Regions from separate parts of the Homo sapiens genome. Here region 2 is linked to region 1. The links are contacts of gene promoters, found by promoter capture Hi-C in blood cells and fetal thymus (Javierre and others, 2016). All regions are on one chromosome and are shown on one strand. The core of a region is centred on a gene start or on the middle of the fragment in contact, and the rest is flanking DNA. Distances in the headings are between cores, read along the strand shown. Region 1 holds the start of LCE1F (late cornified envelope 1F). Region 2 overlaps PGLYRP3 (peptidoglycan recognition protein 3).

Evidence for each region. Contacts are between HindIII fragments. The CHiCAGO score rates a contact against its expected background, and 5 or more counts as called.
Region 2: a contact is called between a fragment that was not itself captured here and the fragment with the promoter of LCE1F in region 1, in 1 of 17 cell types (M2 macrophages). The highest score is 5.9, in M2 macrophages.

What each region holds. Positions count from the first base shown.
Region 1 is chr1:152,773,378-152,777,253 of GRCh38, forward strand. LCE1F (late cornified envelope 1F) reads left to right here and starts at 1,763. Exons shown (of 2, transcript NM_178354.3): 1 at 1,763-1,813; 2 at 2,973-3,647. The coding sequence starts at 2,995. The coding sequence ends at 3,351. The HindIII fragment of the contact is 9,364 bases long and covers 1-3,876 here.
Region 2 is chr1:153,301,378-153,305,253 of GRCh38, forward strand. It overlaps PGLYRP3 (peptidoglycan recognition protein 3), which reads right to left. Exons shown (of 8, transcript NM_052891.3): 4 at 3,570-3,688; 5 at 2,480-2,632; 6 at 1,032-1,230. Among named protein-coding and RNA genes, the nearest start is that of PGLYRP3, 9.6 kb to the right of the region's middle. The HindIII fragment of the contact is 166 bases long and covers 1,975-2,140 here.

The sequences.
Region 1 (3,876 bases), core at 513-3,012:
GATATGCAGCATTATTTCTGAGGGTTCTGTTCTGTTCCATTGTTCTATATCTCTGTTTTGGTACCAGTACCATGCTGTTTTGGTTGCTGTAGCCTTGTAGTATAGTTTGAAGTCAGGTAGCGTGATGCCTCCAGCTTTGTTCTTTTGGCTTAGGATTGACTTGGCAATGAGGGCTCTTTTTTGGTTCCATATGAACTTTAAAGTAGTTTTCTCCAATTCTGTGAAGAAAGTCATTGGTAGCTTGATGGGGATGGCGTTGAATCTATAAATTACCTTGGGCAGTATGGCCATTTTCACGATATTGATTCTTCCTACCCATGAGCATGGAATGTTCTTCCATTTGTTTGTATCCTCTTTTATTTCCTTGGGCAGTGGTTTGTAGTTCTCTTCCTGAAACTCTAAATACATGGGTGCTAGAATGTTTGATATTATTCCACTGGTCACTGATCATCTGTTCATTTTTTTAATATTTTTCCCTTTCTTCAGTTCAGTTTGAACAATTTCTTCAAGTTCACCGATCTGTTCTTCTGCAACTTATAATCTGCTAAAACCATCCAATAATTCTTTGATGTTATATGTAATTTTGACCATATTTATTTTTCAAATATTGGTTTTTTATTGTTAGATTTTGCATTTGGTTAGTTTTGAGCATGGGAAACTGGGAAATTAAACCCAGGAAATGTGTATTGCAACAAAGCCAATAATTTCAAATTAAATATTGACTATGTCTATTCTTGTCTATACCAACTACACCACTCCAAGTCACAGTTCAAAGCCACCTCATTGGCTGTTCTCTTCTCTTCACCCTTCTCATCTTTATTTTACCTCATCCCTTCAGCTTTTCCTCAGGAAACTGCAAATTCTTTTATGCTATAATTTGGGGCAATATACATCCTTTAGTCCTCTTTTCTTATACCCACTCTGGATCTACCTTCAGAAAGCCCTATTCACTGAGGTACGTAGGAGGAAAAAAAAATGGCCTTTAGTTTTAATAAGAGCCACCTAACTTAAAAGGCACCTGTGACTTTAAAAATTCCCAATGTCCATTAAAATCTCAGGTTTGCCTCTATTTTTCTTTCTATCTATCTATCTATCTATCTATCTATCTATCTATCTACCTATTCATCCATTTCCTAATTATAACCACATGCCACATACTATCTCAGCTACTTCCCCTTTGTTATCTTAATTAATTTGTAAATCCTGCAGAAAAGATATTTCTCTTATTATCTTCATTTAAAACATCAGAAAGCCAATGGCCAAAAATATTGAATACTTTGCCAGGGTCTCCAAGGCCTCTTTTCTCGACTTCTATGATGCACACACATGCCCATGTGCACATGGACAAACCCCATAATGCAGGCATGTGGATTTTTAACCAAGCTATATGGACCCAAAGGTCTAGATGGAAAATTAGTATCTAGAATAGAAGGAAAAATGAGTTGTTTGTGCAGAATTCATAAGTGTGACTACAAGACTGTGAAGAGAGCCATCTTCATAGGAAATAGGCCACGGAGGACTCCAGGAACCATGATGTCCATTTTCACCCACCACAAGCCCCCATTTCCACCAAGCTCTTTCCTAGCTGACAGCAGCTCCCCTGAACACCAATGAAGGACGGTATATGCAGAACTGCCAGTCACCACTCGTCACAAGACCTATGTGGGTGTCGGGAGGCAGGTCCTCTCATGCCCAGGCTCTGTCTCACCGCTGGAGGCAGCACCCAAGGACAGAATAAAAGGGCTCAGGGCCAGAGCATCCCATCCACTCACCTCCTGCGGTGCTGAAGAACCCTGTGCTGCCTGTGATCCTGGTAAGTGTGCCCTGGAAAAAGGAGCAGGGGCTTCCACAGAGGGATGCCCAGGCCAGGGAAGGAGGGGATGGATACTCAGACCAGGGCAGGAGTAGAGTCTAGGCAGGGCCTCAGGGGCCTGGAATTGTGATTGGCAAGGAATGGGGTGGGGGCAGAAAATTGGAAAGAGGAGGTAGAGGGGTGGGGTGGAGTGAGAGAGATTAAGAAGAACTGGTAAGATCTGAAGGGCTGTATGACACAGATTTAGAGGAACCAAATTGTTTTCAGTTGCTCAGTGTGTTTCTCTGGTTTTAGAGAATAAACACATTGGCCACTGGATGTTGCTAGAGTGGGCTGCATAGTGGGAATATAATTTTGGAAATACAGACATACTCACTTTTAGAAAAGATATGCTGAGAACACTGCTACTTAGAGGAAGAAAGGATCAAAGACACCTGTGGATCTTGTTAGATGCCAACAAGAAGATCTGTAGTGGAAAACTGAGTGCACACTGGAGTTTAAAAGCCATGTGACAGTGCCTGGGGACAGGCCTGGGGAGGCAGGATGTGCTAAAGGGCAGAGCCCAGGATGGGAACCAGGGGACCCCGGAACAAATGTGACTGTTAATGAATAACTTTGGGCCAGTGAAGTTACCTCTTTTGGCTTCAGTTTCTTTATTTATATATTGAGTTGGTTGGAACAAATTGACTCCAACATCCTTTGCGGTTATAGTTTTCTCTATTTCTGCAAACTGAAATATATCAGTTCTTCCAATAGAAATTTATTTTGATTTTTCCTTAAAGAGATTTTCATCTCTAAACTGGTCTCAACATTGAACATTTTCAGAATTCTTGGTGATGTGATAGAATGAATGCTGGCCCGGAGCCAATTTATTTCCTGGACTTCTCTCCCACACTTAGGAGCTTTTAATGAGCAGAAACTTTATTTACATATTTGGAGATTATATATTGCATGACAACATCTCAAATAAGGTTTGAAATGAGAATCCATGAATGAAAGCACTTGGTAAACATTGAGAGTGATAAAAACATTAGAGGTGATTTTCCTATGTTTGATATAAGGCTTTCAAAATGAAGGATCTAGAAATAATGCAGAAAGGACAAGAATAGGCAGGGGTGTCCTCTGCCTCCATCTAACTTGCTGTCTGACCCTCCTTCAGCTCCTGAACACCCGCCACCGAGATGTCTTGCCAGCAGAGCCAGCAGCAGTGCCAGCCCCCTCCCAAGTGCACTCCCAAGTGCCCTCCCAAGTGCCCCACACCGAAGTGCCCCCCAAAGTGTCCCCCTAAGTGCCCTCCTGTCTCTTCCTGCTGCAGCGTCAGCTCCGGAGGCTGCTGTGGCTCCAGCTCTGGGGGCTGCTGCAGCTCTGGGGGTGGTGGCTGCTGCAGCTCTGGGGGAGGCGGCTGTTGCCTGAGCCACCACAGACGGCGTAGGTCCCACCGCCACAGACCCCAGAGCTCTGACTGCTGCAGCCAGCCCTCAGCGGGCTCCAGCTGCTGCGGAGGGGGCAGTGGCCAGCACTCTGGAGGCTGCTGCTGAAGTGGACCCTGTGCCTAAAAGAGCAGATTTAGAGGCATGAAAGGGGCAACTTCATCTTCCTTGGGACTGACTGTGTTGCTGGGACATTTTAGTAAAGATTTCAAACTCTGTCCTGGAAGATTCCTCCGACCTAGAATCCAGAAATCTGCCCTCTCACAAGAATTCCTCTTCTGACCTCTGATTCCATCTGTGCGCCTGGCCTGGGAATACCAAATAGAAGTCCTTGCCTCATTCCCCTGATTTCCTTGGCAATCTCCATTGTGCATGAAACAATAAAACAAATAATCTGCTCATCACCTTTTTCTAGACTGCATTACTCTTGCTTGTAAATGTGAACAGAGGGATAAGCATGTCTTATCTCAGCTCCATCACCCGGTTATCTGGGCCTTGAAGCAGCATGGCTTGCTTAACTCCTTCAACTCCTGGTCCTCACCAGAGCTGACCCTCGCCCCTCAGTGCCTCAGCCAGGGTCAAGTCAGGAAAGAGAATTATGAGATGTACTTTAATAGACAGAAGTTTACATAA
Region 2 (3,876 bases), core at 808-3,307, 530 kb after region 1:
GTTACAGGTGACATATCATGAGGCTGGAGCAGAAGGATATTGCAACAGGTTTTGAAAAGTCAAGGAACGGGGATGGAGTCTCTAAAGACTGAGTGAAAGAGGAAAACAAACATTCCCTCACCTTCTGGCATTTTCCATGTGGAATTTCCAGATTTTTAGTCAATTTCTTGTTACCTGTGCTAAATAACCATAGAAAGCCTATGGAAAATCCTGCAAAGTGAAGCAAGAGTTCCCTCCTGTTTGCAAAGGCTGCTTTTAAAACAGGAGTTAAAAGGAGAGATAGTAGGCCCAGAACAACACATGTGCAAAAGCACATCTACCTGAGACTTTGTAAGATTTGTTGTGATTAAGTCACAGATGAATAATTGAAATACATTATACTCTAGCCCTAAATCCTTCCTTTGAAAATTCCAAGACATCTTCCAAGCAGCTTCTTCTACTCCATTAGTTTAATGTGTTTCTTTATTACAGACCTGGCATTAAAGGTACCAAAAGAAAATGTTTTGATCTTGCTCCCTGTCTTCAAACAGATAAAGCATTGTCCCTATTGTAGAGATGAGACAAAAGAGGCCCAGAGAGGTTAAAAGTTCCTACATCTATAAAATGAGGTAAGTAACACCAGAGGAATAGCAGGATTCTAACATCGGAGAGAGCAAGTTTGGAGCTGGGCAGACTGAGATAGGAGTGAGCAAGGCCTTTGTCTCTGACAGGTTAGAAGGGATTGCATTAAAAAGGTACAACCCTTCATGGCCTTCCCTGAGGGTATCACAGTCTTGCTTTATCACTAGGCTTCTAATGCCTTCTTTTCAGAATCTTCCCAACCACTTGTGGAGATACGTCCAAGCGAGGTAACTGACCATTAGCTATGCTCTGAATGATCCTCAGCCCAATCTTGCAAAAATAAAATATGATGCCTTATGGAAACCACCCAGCCCAAAGGAGAGGCTCAGGAAACATCAGTTCCCTCCCACAGCCTTCCTTCCTACAATCCTGAAGAAAAAGAGGGTTCTTTTGGCATTGATCCCACTTACTGATATCCAATGTCACAAAAGTTCCGTGTGTCCATGTGAAAGGACTGTATGTTTCGGACGACAGTCTGGCAGTCTGTGGATACAGTGCAGCTTGTGCCAGCGGTGTGGATGATGATGACATATTTGGCTGGGAGGTTCATTTTAGGGCAGTGTGTCTCTCTGGCTTCCCAAGCAGATCGTTTGATGATGTTGGGGCAAACTGTGGTAAAATGAAAAGCCAAGGAAGTAGGAATTTTTTTTGCCTCTCTGTGAGCAATCACTCAACTCCAGGCTGGATTATTCCTCAGCCTCTCCCAGGCCTCCAGCACCCACGGGCACATCCTAATGTAATATCAGCTTTGGGATTCTGGGGAAGTCCAGTTGGGAGGTTTCTGATTCAGATGGCTGGAGCCAAGGGGCTGAGGCAAAAATCTACAGGCCTGATACCAATAGAAATCAGCGTATAAGCAGAAGGGAAAGGGCTGTGGGTTATACAGAGGCATGGTCATTGTCTTCAAAAGACCATGCATTGCAAATATATATGCAGGTATGTGCGCTTATGTAACAGGGCTACTACGCGGAAGTCAGTGGACTCTCCGAACTGATCACACATATTTGGAAACAACTTGAAATCTAGAGAGAACTGTACAAATATTAAGAAATTATCATTATTGAAGATAGTGCCTGTCCAAAAGCAAGAAACATTTTATTTGAGATTTACAGTTTTAAAAAGCTAATTCTAAAAATATCATTGATCCCAAGAAAAGGTCCACTAGCAGGAGTGCTTATTAATTTGACTGGTTTTAGGTTGCTGCTTATTCACTTCAAAATAGTGCATTATTTTTATTACTCAGCTTTTTGTTATATGCACTCTGATGTCAGCATCATCTGTGAGCACAAGCTTTTCTCCGAGCTGTGGCTGTGCTGTGGCCATGGCTGGTTTTTGCATTTAGAAAGGTATGTAAGCTTATGTATGTCCTTCGTGTCCCCACATAATAGACACAACTATGTATACATGTTAATCCCACTCCATTCCCACTCTATTTTTCTCCATAGCTTTTATGCCGTCTAACATCATATACATTTCTTTGTTATTTTGTTCATTTTCTGTCTCTTCTCACTGAAGTGCAAGCTTCCTGAAGGTGAAGAGTTTCATCTGTTTTGTTCACAGCTGTATGCTCAGTACTTAGAACAGTGCCTGCTATGCAGTAAATATTTGTTGACTGACTGAAAATCTGTGTACATATGTATTTGTTTTAAGAAGAAGTCTATGGCTATCTCATTCTGATGGGATGGAGAGGAGGCCAGGAAGATGCCCTCTCAGAATTTTCCAGATCTCAAAGTAGGCATGAGATGTTCTTAGTCCCAGAATCCCATGGGGTCTAACAGGAAAAAGCACTCCCAAACATGACTCCAAACATGGCTAGGTGGTGACGAGGAGGAGGGTGAGGTGACATGGAGGGTCTTACCCTTCCTGGGCATCACTGGATGTTGAGGGTCCAGGCAGGTCTCTTCTTTCAGAAGAAGTGGCTGAATATACCTGGGCGACAGGTGACCCTTCTGGATGGCATAGGAGATCAGACCCTCTGCAGCTGATAAGGCAGCAGGGCTGGGACTGCTGCCTTAAAGAGGAGGACAGGGAGCACAAAAATGTCAGTAAGAAACTCCACCTAGACCAGACACCTGCAGAAAGGATGATATGACCACTTGAGCCTGAATAACTGGATTGGAAGAGAGGAAACTGGTCCAGTTGCCAGAACAGAGTGCCTAAGAGGCGAGAAGCTACCTAGATCTCTTAGCAGCCAAGGTTGAAAACTTCTTCCAAGAGCCAAGCTAAGACTTTATCCACTCCATCTCTAGGCAGAAGAGCTGGAAGGCAGTGAAGGATACATGCAAAGGGAGGCCCACCTGACCAAGTCAGGTGTGCACTAGCACAGGAGAAAAGGCAACCAGAATTTACTCATAGCTCCCCTGATCAGGTGTGCAGTAGGCTTTTTATATCTGTTAACTCATAACTCTCACAGAAAACCTCTGAGAGAAATGCTGTTACCTAGCCCCAGCTGTCAAATGAGGATGCTGGCAGGTGCTGGTTCCATATGTATTATTTCTCAGCTCCATCCCTGTTCTGTGCTTTTCTCTATTTTTCTAGGGGCTAGAAGCCTGCAAATTATACCTCCAGATTTCCTTGCCTGCTGCCTTCTGGTCACTTTCTACCAGTGGAACTGGAATAAGAGATGAGCCATGCTTCTCTGCCTCTGGCAGTCACAGCATCTATGTCAGACAACCTCAGACTTTAGAAGTGACAGCAATAACCGTGAGCTCAAGCAACGCCCATGCAAGCTTCAGCAATATCACAGGAGTACAGACCAGTAAAGAGAGGCAGAGGACAAAAAGTATGCATGTCACAGGATCCAAAGGAGAAAAGAATTTCAAGAGAAGGGTGATCATCAGAGAAGGTAAGTATGATGTAGGGTAAAAAGATGAGTGTTGACCCTTGGGAGTGGAGGAAGAGAGTGTACACAACTCTCCAGCACAGGGTCCGCAGGGAGTGACCCTTACCTATCTTATTGCCAAAGAAGGCGATGCCCAGGGAAATGTTGTTGTAGCCCTGGGTGTGCAAGCCTTGGATGTTCCAGCCAACACCTTCATACACCCTGCCATCATCCCCAACCAGGAAGCTGACAAGAAGGAAATAATGATTTTACTGCAAATCTCCATAAATGAAAACCTCTCACTGATCCTCAAAAGGAAAAGGGGTTCTGGAGGCTCATAAGTAAGTACTATGTTCCAATAACAAAACAATAGGAGGTGCAGAATAACCAGTTTTAGACCTCCAAGAGACATGGGAATATATTTTAATTTTTGT